Regions from separate parts of the Homo sapiens genome. Here all the other regions are linked to region 2. Evidence: promoter capture Hi-C in 16 types of primary human blood cells and fetal thymus (Javierre and others, 2016). All regions are on one chromosome and are shown on one strand. The core of a region is centred on a gene start or on the middle of the fragment in contact, and the rest is flanking DNA. Distances in the headings are between cores, read along the strand shown.

Evidence for each region. Contacts are between HindIII fragments. The CHiCAGO score rates a contact against its expected background, and 5 or more counts as called.
Region 1: a fragment that was not itself captured here is called in contact with the fragment with the promoter of DTNBP1 in region 2 in 3 of 17 cell types (erythroblasts, M1 macrophages and M0 macrophages); the score reaches 9.3 in erythroblasts.
Region 3: a contact is called between a fragment that was not itself captured here and the fragment with the promoter of DTNBP1 in region 2, in 4 of 17 cell types (M1 macrophages, megakaryocytes, M0 macrophages and 1 more). The highest score is 7.5, in M1 macrophages.

Annotation. Positions count from the first base shown.
Region 1 is chr6:16,191,208-16,195,795 of GRCh38, forward strand. No RefSeq gene overlaps it. Among named protein-coding and RNA genes, the nearest start is that of GMPR, 45 kb to the right of the region's middle. The HindIII fragment of the contact is 3,910 bases long and covers 648-4,557 here.
Region 2 is chr6:15,659,312-15,664,277 of GRCh38, forward strand. It overlaps DTNBP1 (dystrobrevin binding protein 1), which reads right to left and starts at 3,717. Exons shown (of 10, transcript NM_032122.5): 1 at 3,503-3,717. The coding sequence starts at 3,558. RefSeq lists an enhancer at 2,924-2,973 and a silencer at 3,204-3,713. The HindIII fragment of the contact is 5,039 bases long and covers 653-4,966 here.
Region 3 is chr6:16,210,355-16,214,772 of GRCh38, forward strand. No RefSeq gene overlaps it. Among named protein-coding and RNA genes, the nearest start is that of GMPR, 26 kb to the right of the region's middle. The HindIII fragment of the contact is 6,035 bases long and covers 1-4,418 here.

The DNA of each region.
Region 1 (4,588 bases), core at 1,353-3,852, 530 kb after region 2:
TGAAATCATGACTATCCCCTACCTTTGCAGAATTCCAAAGATACTTTGTCTACAAATTATTAACCTGTAACTCACAATTTCACAGGTAGTTTTATTTGTATGAGGATTATAGTTAGGACACATTAATTTGTAGGAGAAAAATATATTCCTCGTATTTTTTAGGGAGGTATAGTCAGAGGGTTGTGGAACTGTGGATGGGCTGTTTACAGTCCTTTTATTTATTTATTTATTTATTTATTATTATTATACTTTAAGTTTTAGGATACATGTGCACAACGTGCAGGTTTGTTACATATGTATACATGTGCCATGTTGGTGTGCTGCACCCATTAACTCGTCATTTAGCATTAGATATATCTCCCAATGCTATCCCTCCCCCCTCCCCCCACCCCACAACAGTCCCCGGTGTGTGATGTTCCCCTTCCTGTGTACAGTCCTTTTTTTGTCTGAACTTATCACATTTTGTGTTAAACAACACTAACCTAGCAGCTGATAAAATCTGATGCTTTAAAACTCAAAGGGATTCTAGAGGTTGTCTAGTCTGGTATTCCTCATGTGTTGGTCTGTACACAGGCTACATGAGAATTATTTGGTTAGTGATTTCCAAATACAGATTCCTGGGGCCCTCTCTGGGCCTTCTTTACAAAAGCTTAAAGGCAGGACACTGGGAATCTTAATTTTAAGGTTTCTAAATTGATTATTGGGCATAGCCTGGTTTTGCTACCTCTTATCCAAGACCATCTCTAACTCAGTGGAGGAATCCTGTCCTACACACCTCTGACCTGTAAGCAGGCAAGGCAGTCTCATCAGGGACACACACAGGAACAATCTTGGAGAAAGTGTGTTTTTTTGTTTTGTTTTGTTTTTTTGGAGACAGGGTCTCACTCTGTCACCCAGGCAGGGGTGCAGTGGTGCAATCTCAGCTCACTGCAACCTCCGCCTCCTGAGTTCAAGCAATTCTCCTGTCTCAGCCTCACAGGTAGCTAGGACCACAGGCGTGCACCACCATGCCTGGCTAATTTTTTGTATTTTTAATAGAGACGGGCGATCTCACTATGTTGCCCAGGCTGGTCTTGAACTGCTGAGCTCAGGCAATCCGCCCACCTCGGCTTCCCAAAGTGCTAGGATTATAGGGATAAGCTACCACACCCAGCTGGAGAAAGTGTGTTTTAATGGGGTAATAATATATTTCATTTTATTTATTTTTTGAAGAGAGAAGATCCCACTATGTTGCCCAGGCTGATCTTGAACACTTGGGCTCAAGTGATCCTCCCTCCCCAGCCTCCTGAGTAGCTGGGATTACGAGCATGAGCCAGTGCACTCAGCTGCTGGGATAACACTAGGTTTAAAAATCCTTTCTGGCTGGGCGCGGTGGTTCATGCCTGTAATCTCAGCACTTTGGGAGGCTGAGGCAGGCGAATCACGAGGTCAGGAGAGCGAGACCATCCTGGCTAACAAGGTGAAACCCCATCTCTACTAAAAATACAAAAAATTAGCCAGGTGCAGTGGCCCACATCTGTAATCCCAGCACTTTGGGAGGCCGAGGTGGGCGGATCACGAGGTCAGGAGATTGAGACTATCCTGGCTAACACGGTGAAACCCTGTCTCTACTAAAAATACAAAAAAATTAGCCGGGCATGGTGGTAGGTGCCTGTCGTCCCAGGTACTCGGGAGGCTGAGGCAGGAAAATGGTGTGAACCCGGGAGGCAGAGCTTGCAGTGAGCCGAGATCGCGCCACTGCACTCCAGCCTGGGTGACAGAACGAGACTCTGTCTCAAAAAAAACAAGCAAAAACAAACATTTTATTTAGAAATAATTTTAAATTTATAACAGACTGTCAAGGATTCTATAGAGAACTCCCCTATTCCCTTTACCCAAATTCACCATATCCATTTTTAACATTTTGACACACTTGAGCTCTTGTGTGTGCATGCACTCTCTCCTCACTCTCTCTGTCTGCACAGACACACACATTAAGTTTTTCTGGGTCATTTAAAAGTACTTTGCAGACTTCATGACCCTTTACTCCTCAGCGTATATTTTTTCAGTGTATATTTTCTAAGAACAAGAAAGTAATAAAATTCAGATAACTTAATATTGACATAATACCTTAATCTATAATCTTATGCCAAATTTACCAATTGTCCTAATAATATCCTTTAAAGCAGTTTTTGGTACATTATCCAGTCCAATAACACACTGATGTCCTAATAATTGTCCTAATAATATCCTTTAAAGCAGTTTTTGGTACATTATCCAGTCCAATAACACACTGATGTTCCTTAGAGGCTCTAGGGAACAAATGCATTATTTCGAAAACGTTTCATTGTCACAAATTACTTTATTTTTAATGTGGGCTTTGAATAGTTTATTCTAGAACCAACCACCCCATTCCTCTTAAAGAGATCAGCCTAGTCTTGAAAAGTCCAGGTTTGTGAAGACACATTTCCTTACCCATTCTCTGAAGTGTCAAGTTCCTATTTCAAACACATACACACAAAAAAAATTCAGAGGAAAATATTTGGAAATGTTCCTATTTGTTGTGTGCCCGTGGCCTAGGAGGTGACAAGAAACAAAATTGTTCCCTGCTTCTCTGTCAAAATCCTGGCATGTAGACCCTCTGTTTTCTCAATTCGTTATAGAATTTCAACTGCTGAATGAGCATTCTTTAACCTGAGCTGACCATTTGGAATTTAAAATTAGCAGAGTAATTATATTTACTGGGCCACTGATTCAAGGGAAATTGAGCTCAGCTGATGAATTTGCATGTCGTGAAATGGGTCATGACAGCAGATGGTCTTCCAAGAAGCAAAAAATAACTTTGAAGTTGGTTGCTCTTTCTCCTTGACTTCTTCCATTGAACCCCGCTGCAATAATGTGAATGCTGAAAGCAGGTCAAGTGAATTTGGGATGTCTGGATGGATAATCAAGGAGAGTTGTTAGTTGTCAAAGAAGAATATTTTGATCTTAAAATCAATCACCATATATCGAGATCTGATTATAAAGCTAATGCTGTGTTCAATCACCATCATCATTAACATTTATTAAGCGCTCGCTTGCACAGGTGCTATTCTAAATGCTTTACATGTATTGACTTGTTTAATCTGCACCAAAACCTATAAGCAAGGATTATTATCATCTGCATTTTACAAATGAGAAAATTGAAAGTAAGAAAATAAATTGACCAAGTTCAAATAAGGTGTTTTGGTTTTTGCTTTTTGTCATATGAAATAAGTGAAGCCTGAGGAGATTTTGTCTATATTAAACTCAGAAATGTCATATTTAGATTGTGGTTTCTAAATACCATTTCCCACTAAAAGAAACCAGGGCACTTTGGAGAAATGGCTGATTTGATATCTGGAGCTGGAAATGTACAAGATGAGCATAGAACATCTTGTCATACCACATGGCAGGAAAATGACTGGGATCGTTTTTTAAGGCTGAAGAGCTCTTATTGAGCAAAGAGGAACAAATTTGAGCATCAATAAAGAGAAGAATTAAAATGGATGTAAACAAATAGAAAATATTTGTTGAAACACATGGACTGTATTTAAATCCATTGGTTTATAATAACACTGAAACAGAAACACATTTGGTATTCTTTAGAGGCTCTAGGGAACCGATGCACTATTTTGAAAACTGATCAATAGGGAGAAAGAATCAAGCATTTTTTTCTTTCATTTTTTATATGAACTGTATCTCAGTGTAACCAAATATTTAACAAGGGCAAGTTTCTTTTTACATAAGTAATCTACCCAACAAATGAAGAAGAAATAATTAAAATATCACTATTTGAATCATTAAGGAATTAATGTTTCTCAGCAATGATCAACAATGGCTGGTAACATTTAGAAAGTGACATTTTATGATTCTTGATGGAAGTATTCCACACTACCTATATAATAGTCTTGCAAAAAAAAAAAAAATCTGTTCAAGCACCTGTATCTAACAGAAAATACAGAGGACAGAGGAGCATGTTAAGCAACACTGTGGGGATGAAATCAGAAAAATCCACACTATGAGAAACTCAGGACAAAGGGTCTATTTCTTCTATACAACAACAATCACAAGAATGAAAGACAAATGTAAGGAGGGAGAATATTTACATTAAAAGAGACTTGAGGATTGGGCATGATGACTCACACCTGTAATCCTAACACTTTGGGAGGCTGAGGTGGGAGGATCTCTTGAGCCCAGGAGTTGAAGACCAGCCTGGGGAACATAGCGTGACCCTATTTAAATATTTTAAAAAGAGAGAGAAACTTAAGAACTTATTATTAGCCAACAGTAATATATAGAGCTTTGTGGATCCTATTTCAAATGCACTTTAAAACAAAAAACAACAAAGCAAATTAGAACCAGAACATTTATAGATAATCAGGAAAATAGGAACATGGATATTAAAGAATTAGAATTACAATTTGGGGGATAAGATGATGATGTAATTACATTTAAAATAGAGTCTTCAGAGATACATACTAAAATATTTCAAATAAAATTATATGGTGTCTAAGGGTTGCTTCAAAATAATTGGGAGAAGCCAGGTACAGTGACCCAAGCTTGAAGTTTCAACTACTCAGGAGGCTGA
Region 2 (4,966 bases), core at 2,467-4,966:
AGCGGGAGCTGCACTGGCTGCACTGAAGGAGCCCAGAAATGCCTGAGGCCTTCCATTCCATCCCTGGGGCAGCCTGCACACCCGGTGTTTCCAATTATTTTAGAAGGCAGCTGCTCTGGCTTCCACACAATTGCTCTGCCACCAAGTGTTCTACAGAAACGCCAGGTCCAATGTGATAGCTCTGGGTGGCCAGGGCCATGTTTTTTCATTTTTTCTTTCTTTTTTAAGAGATGGGGTTTCTTTCTTTTTTTTTTTTTTTGAGACGGAGTCTCCCTCTGTCACCCAGTCTGGAGTGCAGTGGTGTGATCTCGGCTCACTGCAACCTCCACCTCCTGGATTCAAGAGATTCTTCTGCCTCAGCCTTCCAAGTAGCTGGAATTACAGACGCACGCCACCATGGCCAGCTAATTTTTGTATTTTTTAGTGGAGACGGGGTTTCACCACGTTGGCCAAGCTGGTCTTGAACTCCTGACCTCATGATCCGCCTGCTTCGGGCTCCCAAAGTGCTGGGATTACAGGTGTGAGCCACCGCACCCAGCCAAAAGATGGGGTTTCTTTGTGTTGCCCAGTCTTGAACTCCTGGGCTCAAGGGATCCTCCTGCCTCAGCCTCCCAAGTAGCTGGGACAACAAAATTGTTGGAAGATTCCATAAAGCTTCCCCATGTGGCCCTTTAACAGTCGTCTGTTTTAAAAATTGGTTTTTAAACAGATTTAATGTGTGAAACTTATCTGATCTGGATTTGAACAAACCAACTGTAAAAAGTCATTTCTAAGCACAAAACAAATCTGATTATGGACTGCATAATTGATAATATCAAAAAATTAGTGTTAATTTTATTATCTATGATATCAGCATTGCATTTATGTAATATGTTTCTTTTTTAGTGATGCAGCTCACGTCTCTTTCATCTTTGAATTCCACATTACCAACATATAATAAACACATGTGTGCTGTGTTTAGCGTCATCTTTTCTCCTCAAGGCAAAAATAATCAGTTATGTAAAGGAGGTTGATCTCAAGCTGAATATGGAAAAGTTTAACCGAACAGCTTAAATGTAGGAAATTGAGGACCTGAAGAAAGTGAACATCAGGCACTAGAGGTCCGGGTCTACTGGGAGACTGACATCACTTGGAGATGAGTTGTTTCTCCACCAGGTGACAGGCTAATGGCACACACTGACAGTCCAGTGGTTTGTCAGCTGAAAGTGACCTGTACAGGAGAAAGCCAACAAAAGACCTAATGAAGCCCTCTCAGGATGTCTAGCTCCAAAATGGCCCCAGACTACGGCATCTTTAAGAAGTCAAGTCAGTTTCCAAGGGGTTCTAACTAGATCCCTTTGGCATGTCTCTCCTTAACTAACTCTAAACGTTTAGGGTTACCCTGATCTCCCAGGATGGTTTGTGCCCCAGCAGTCCAGAGCCCACTCCAGAATCTACATTCCGGGGTAAAATGCCTTCTTACAAAGGTCAGGAGCATGAATGCTTCTGAGGCAACCATGTGACCTAGAGTTATAGTAACTACAAGATGGGCTCTTGTGCCATCAAGGAATTCCATGAAGTACTAACAGGAGAATAATGGCCACTCTCATGCTACAAATGGGCCATTTCAGCATCACACCAAAAAGTTTTCAATACAATAATTTACGCTCTGAAAAGAAGGTACTTTTACTAAATAGGGAGAACAAAATGCAAGCACGCAAGCACACCCATCAGTGAATGACTCCGAGCGTCCATAACTTTCTAAACACCAAACTAACAAAAATGATTGACGCATGGTAAGTGCTCAAGCGTTTGACAGTTTGTTATTCAACGCCCAATGTGCAAATAGTATTAACATTTTTGTCCATTAAGATAAAATTTTGGCTAACATCTTTCTCATTAGAAATTTAAAACGAGGCTGGGCGCAGTGACTAATACCCATAATCCCACCACTTCAGGAAGCCTAGGAGGGAGGATCTCTTGTACCCAGGAGTTGGAGGCTGCAGCGAGCTATAATAGCGCCACTGCGCTCCAGCCTGGGCAACAGAGCGAGAACTTGTCACTTTAAAAAAAAGGGGGGGAGGGTGGGCCGGGAACGGTGGCACACGCCTGTAATCCCAGCACTTTGGGAGGCCAAGGCGGGAGGATCACAAGGTCAGGAGTTCGAGACCAGCCTGGCCAATATGGTGAAACCCGTCTCTACTAAAAAATACAAAAATAAGCCGGGCGCCTCTAGTCCCAGCTACTCAGGAGGTGGAGCCAGGAGAATCGCTTGAATCCGGGAGGCGGCGGTTGCAGTGAGCCGAGATCACGCCACTGCACTCCAGTCTGGGTGACAGAGCAAGACTCCATCTCAAAAAAAAGGGGGGTGGGGGGGAGAAATTTAAAACAGTATGAGTGGAAATGTTCTCACATTCAGTGCATCCTCCAACAGGATTTGTAAGCTAAAGTTGAAAGATCCTTTTCAAAGACAGATCTTTTTCACTTTAAAGGAATGAAAAAATTAAAATTAAGCACTAAGTAACAATACTGACATGATGCTTGCTTCGTGTTTTACACATTAATTCATTAATCCTTGTAATAACCTTTTAAGTACCATCATTATCCCCATTTTACGGTAGCGGAAACAGTACATTGAGGCAAGGCAGCTGAGTAACTACGTTTGATTTAGTGGTCGAGCCAGGATGCCTAGGCAATCTGGCGCCAGAGTCTCGGCCTGTGGTTCCCAGGCGTTGGTGCCCACTGGAATCCCCTGGGGATCTTTAAAACGCCGTCTCCAGGCACTCTGGTCAACAGGTAGGGGGTGAGACCTGGGCATCAGAACTCTGAAAGGTTCCCAGGTGATTCTAAGCAAAGTTTGGGAACCGCTGGGTATTAAAAGCATTCCTAAAGTTCTGTCGCTTCTCCTGCTTAGGAGTTCCTTCGCCGAGGCGCTGAGCTCACGGCAAAGGTAGAGAAAGGACGCAACGGGGAGGGGCGGCCAGCCTTGCCAAGGGTTAGGCCGGCGAGCCGGGCGTGAAAGCCGAGACGCGGCGCGGAAGGCTGTGGCCGGAGGGTGCAGGCTGCTGCGCGGTGCGATCCGACTCGGGGAGGGTGGCTGGCCCAGCTCCAGGTGCGCACGAGCAGGTGTCTGCTGGGCCGAGGGGCGCAGGCCACTGTGCCGCGGGGGCGGAAGCGGTGAGGCGCGCTGGCTTCTCACATGACTTCCCTCCAGGGCCCAGCTGATGCTGCCGGGAAAGGACCGCAGGGTCCCACACCCCCCCCGGGCGCTCCGCTGCGCCGCCGAGCGCCTCCCGGTCCTGGGGGGTGCGCGTCACAGGCGGCCCGCAGGGACCTAAGTTACTTTGCGCCGCCCGACGCGAGGACGCCGGGAAGTTCGTTACTTTCCTCGGCGGGGCGGGGCGGGGAGGTGCGGGACAGGACGGACCCTGGACCGTGGCGCGGGGAAGGGAGCGAGGCAGGGGCATCCCAGGCGGCGGCCCGGCCCCCTCAGGTCCCTTTTCGTCGCCCACCGTATACCCACCCGGAGGTGAAATCCTGCTGCACGCTCAGCAGCCGCTCGCGAAGGGTCTCCAGCATTGCCGCCGCCGCCGGTCTCCTCTCCTCAGGCCTCGGGCTGCTGCTGCCTCTGTCGCCCCCTGGGTCCCACGCCGCCAACCCCGCGCTGTCACCGCGCGCCCCGCACTCCCACTACCGGCCCCGCCCCCGGTCTGGTCCTCGCCGCCGCGCCGCAACCCCAGCCCCTTCCGCGTTCCCGCCCCGCGCGCGCCAGGCTCGCGCAGCCGCAGTGGACTGCGCCGGGCTCGGGCTGCGGAAAAGGGGCGGGTCTTCCCCCGACCGAGAGGGCCAGTAGCTCCTCGGCTCATTCCTATCCCGCACCAGGCCTTCTCGTTTTTTTTTTTTTTTCTTTAAAATGGAAGCGGCATCGTGAAAGGATGATTTAACTCGAAGCCTCCTTTGAGGGAAGTGTTGGCTTTTACGTTTTGGAAGAGAATTGGATCTCTCTCTTCAATAGGCGATGTGCACAAATCATTGCATGGATTCTAGGTCCAGGATCTGACCCCACTGGCTTTCACCTTGAATGAGACAGTCAAATATTGAGCCTCGGTTTCTTCATTCATAAAATGGCAATAATAGTCGACTGTCTCGACATTCTTACTTTCCACTCTCTCTTTACCCCCCCAGGCTTTTGTGCCCTACACACCAAAGGTGATCGCCTTTCGCGAGTCACCAGTGACTTCCATGTTGCTGATGCCTTTTATTACTTCTCTGCCCTGATTTTTTCTCCACCTCTCAGTGGCTTTCAATGCAGTTTATCATCCCCATCCTTAAAACACTTTCTTCTCTTGCTAAGCACTCCATAGTTCCTCTCTCCCTTCCGCTCCACCCCTTCTCCTATTTTAATAGCCACTCCCAAGGCTACAGTCCAGCCTCCCCAGCTCTTCTCTCTTCTCCAGATGTGTTGTTCCATAGATGGATAGCATAGAGTCTATCCATTACCACGCTGTAAATTCTGTCAAGGAACCGATGACTCCCACAGCTCTATCTTCTGCCCTGTCCTTCCTCCCTCTCCGTCAATTCATACCAGTTGCTTACTCATGTAAGCATGTATACAACATGTATCCAAAAGGCATCTCAGACCAACATACACAAAATTGAAAATTTCATTCATTGCATGTTCACCTTTAATCTGCTCATCCTGTATTTTCCGTTTCAGTAAATGACACCACCATCCACCAATTTGCTCAAGGTAAGACACTTGAAATCACCTCTGGTTCCCCTCTTTTCCTCATTCCCCATATTAACCCATCAAATCCAATCAACTCTACTCCTGAAGTATTTCTGGAACCTCCTTCTCTTTCTATATCTTCACTATATTTATCCTGGTCGAAGGCACCATCCTCTTTCAATGGGAACACAGACAGTTCTTCCAGATTCTACTCTTTTGCCATACACACCCCTATAATCCATCCTTGACACAGCAGCC
Region 3 (4,418 bases), core at 1,018-3,517, 550 kb after region 2:
CCAACCTTTCTGGCACCAGGGACCAGTTTCACGGAAGACGACTTTTCCACTGACAGGAATGGGGGATGGTTTGGGGATGATTCAAGAGCATTACATTTATTGTGCACTTTATTTCTGTTATTATTATATTGTAATATATAATGAAATAACTATACAACTGATCATAATGTAGAATCAGTGGGATCCCTGAGCTTGTTTTCCTGCAATTAGAGGGTCCCATTTAGGGGTGATGGGAGACAGTGACAGATCATCAGGCATTAGATTCTCATAAGGAGCACAAAACCTAGTTCACAATAGGGTTTGTGCTCCTGAGAATCTAATGCTGCCACTGACCTGACAGAAGGCTGAGTTCAGGTGGTAATGCTCCTTCGTCCACTTACTTCCTGCTATGTGGCCCAGTTCCTGACAGGCCATGGACAGGTACCAGTCCACAGCCCAGGGATTGGGGACCCCTGATATACATCCATTATCTTGTTTAATCTTCTTGTTTTTTTTTTTTTTTTTTGAGATGGAGTCTTGCTCTGTTGCCCAGGCTGGAGTGGAGTGCAGTGGCCTGATCTCAGCTCACTGCAACCTCCGCCTCACAGGTTCAAGTGATTCTCCTGCCTCAGCCTTGCGAATAGCTAGGATTACAGACACGTGCCACCACGCCCAGCTAATTTTTGTATTTTTAGTAGAGATGGGGTTTCACCATGTTGGCCAGGCTGGTCTCGAACTCCTAACCTCAAGTGATCGGCCCTCCTTGGCCTCTCAAAGTGCTGGGATCACATGTGTGAGCCACCATGCCCAGCCTAGCCCTTTTAAGAGACACCAGAGAGCTAGCATGAGCTCTCTTTCTCTGTCTCCTCTCTCTATCTCCCTCTCTCTATCTATCTCTTTATCTCTCTCTCTGTTTCTCTGACTCTCTCTTCCTCTCTTTCTCCCTACTCTGTGGGGACACAGCAAGAAGGCATCTGTCTGGAATCCAGGAAGAGAACCCTCTCCAAAAATCAAATCAGCTGGACCCATGATCTCAGACTTCCTACTCTCCAGAACTATGAGAGAGAAATTTCTGAAATCTGTCCTCTCATGGGCTCAGGTATTAAATTTTAATACTGCAGGCTTCACAATGGGGTGTATGCACCCCTGGGTGGCTGGGCGCAGTGGCTCACGCCTGTAATCCCAGCACTTTGGGAGGCCAAGGCAGGCAGATCACCTGAGGTCAGGAGTTTGAGGCCAGCCTGGACAACATGGAGAAACCTCTGTCTCTACTAAAAATACAAAAAAAATAGCCAGGCATGGTGTTGTGCGCCTGTAATCCCAGATACTCTGGAGGCTGAGGCACGAGATTTGCTTGAACCCAGCGGCAGAGGTTGGCAGTGAGCTGAGATCACGCCACTGCATTCCAGCCTGGGTGACAGCAAGACTCCATCTCAATAAATAAATAAATAATAAAAGGGAATCCATTTCCATCAATATGTTCAACTTGCATCCACTCTCTTTTTTGAAACTGACCTGAGAATACCAGTGATGGAAAGTCAATTTTTTTTTCATCCATGCCCTCTTATCAGTGCACAGATAAGGTTCTCAGCTTCCCAAAAGAAAGGTATCCCTCGTGCCCAACCTATCTTCATGGTGTTGCATTGCTCTGGCATATAGAATCTCTGGATGCTCTTTGAAATATTCATGTGAGTATCGGGAAAAGAGATGCATTTTACCATTGGGTACAAATCATTTAGCAACTTGGATTTCTAAATTTTTGCTTTCAATGAAAAAGAAGGACATGACCAAGGTGTTAGCTGGTAGATCGTTGTAAGTTAATGCTTGTTATAGACAGATCGCCATTAGACTTTTAACATATAATTCAGAAAGAGTTCAAAGAATTAAGGAATATTTCTCTGGGGTTTGTTTGTTTGTTTAGAGACACGGTCTCACTTTGTTGACCAGGCTAGAGCGTAGTGGCACAATCATAGTTCACTGCAGCCTTGGACTTTTGGATTCAAGGGATAGATCCTTCAGCCTCAGCCTCCTGGGTAGCTGGGGCTACAATTACACACAACCACACCTGGCTAATTTTTAAAATTTTTTGTAGATATGGGTTCTTGTTATGTTGCCCAAGCAAACTCCTGGGCTCCAGCGATCTTCCAGCACTTGGTCTTCCAAAGTTCTGGGATTACTCATGAGCCATCATGCCTGGCCCTTGAGTGACATTTCTCTTTGTGACCGAAGTTTCTCATAACTTCTATCTATAAAGACAAACACAATAATAGGAATAAAATCACTTCTGAACTCTCTCATCCTAGCAATAAATAATACTCATTCAGGCGGGGTGCAGTGGCTCACACCTGTAATCCCAGAACTTTGGGAGGCTGAGGCAGGCAGATCACTTGAGCCCAGGAGTTTGAAACAAGCCTGGGCAACATGGCGAAACACCATCTCTACGAAAAATATACAAAAATTACCCAGGCATGGTGGCGAGCGCCTGTAGTCCCAGCTACTCAAGGGGCTGAGGTGGGAGGATGACTTGAGCCGGGGGCTCAGTTAAGGCTGCAGTGCACTGTGATTGTGTCACTGCACTCCATCCAGAACAGCAGAGTGAGGCCCTGCCTCAAAAAGTATAAACATTCATTCATGAATACATGAATTAGAAGGGAAGTGGGAGGGAAGCCCCATTTATCTATGCAGGGCGTCACCTGAATTCCAGTTCTTCCCTTTTGACCATATGGAAGGTTTGCACTTCCCCAACTGTGTTTGAAGTTAGATTTGGCCCTGGGACTGGCATGGGCTAATGAGGTATACATGGAGGTGACATGTATCATTTCCAGGCAGCCACATTCCATTTCTCCTGCCTCAGTGATCATGGGTGCAGACATTGAGAGGAAGCCTGCAGAAGCCCGGGTCCCAGAGTAACCCTGATGAGCAAAGCATCTTGTTGGGTGGACCAATAGTGTGAGCAAGAAATGCGCTTGTTCTGCATCAAGCACCCGAGTATAATCCAGCCCAAGATGCACCCAATAAAAGGTGCCTCTTAAAGAAATTTTACTTCTGATGTTTAATAATTATGTATATCCGTAATTTACTTAAGTCGTTTTGATCAGTTGTCTCTAATAAAAGTTGTAACTATTAGCAACCCCCAAAAAAAGTTTTTAACAATTAAATCATTATAGTCACAGGAAATAATGAAACATTAATTTCAATTTATAGGATTCTTTTTTTTTTTTTTTTTTTTTGAGATGGAGTCTCTCTCTGTTGCCCAGGCTGGAGTGCAGTGGCGCAATCTTGGCTCCCTGCAACCTCCACCTCCTGGGTTCAGGCAATTCTCCTGCCTCAGCCTCCCAAGTAGCTGGGATTACAGGCTCCCACCACCATGCCCAGCTAATTTGTGTATTTTTAGTAGAGACGGGGTTTTACCATATTGGTCAGGCTGTTCTCAAACTCCTGACCTCAGGTGATCCAACTGCCTCAGTCTCCCAAAGTGCTGGGATTGAAGGCATGAGCCATGGCGCCTGGCCAATTTATAGGATTTTTATGGCAGAGAAGTGTGATAGGATGATCAGGAAAAGCCTCTTATCCCAGTGCAATTTATTTCATAAAGCTGGAAATGAACCACCCCAGGATAAATTCCTGAGGGGGATTGTAACCACCCGATGGGTTCATTTTGCCTGCTGCCCAGATACAGCTGATCTATCAAGGCAGAGGAATTGCAATAAAGAGTCCAATTCATGCAGAGCAGCTGAATGGGAGATTGGAGTTTTAATATTACTGGAGTTTTATTATTATAAGGCAGTTTATTGATCTGGGTGGGAAGGCGGTTTGTTTCTGGAAATGGCTGTCATTATCTTTGTTTTTTGTTTTTGTTTTTATTTTTGTTTTTTTGAGACAGAGTCACTCTGTCACCCAGGCTGGAGTGCAGTGGCAGGATCTCAGCTTACTGCAACCTCCACCTCCCAGGTTCCAGTGATTCTCCTCCCTTAGTCTCCTGAGTAGCTGGGATTACAGTCACCCGCCACCACGCCTGGCTAATTTTTGTATTTTTAGTAAAGACAGTGTTTCACCATATTGGCCAGGCTAGTCTTGAACTCATGACCTCAAGTGCTCCATCCACCTCGGCTTCACACACTGCTGAGATTACAAGCCTGAGCCACCGTGCCCAGCCTGTTATCATCTTTGTTTCAAAGTTAAACTATAAACTGAGCTCCTCCCAAAGTTAGTTGATCCTCTGCCCAGGAATGAACAAGGACAGCTTGGAGGTTAGAAGCAACATGGAGTCGGTTAGGTCAGATCTCTTTCACTGTCATAATTGTCTGTTATAATTTTTGCAAAGCTGGTTTCAGGATGTGAAAATAGAAGGTCAAGGACAAAAATGAACAATACAACATTTCAACTCTAAAAGTAGAATTTTTTCACGTGTTTTTTAAGCAAATGGGGGTGGACCCCAA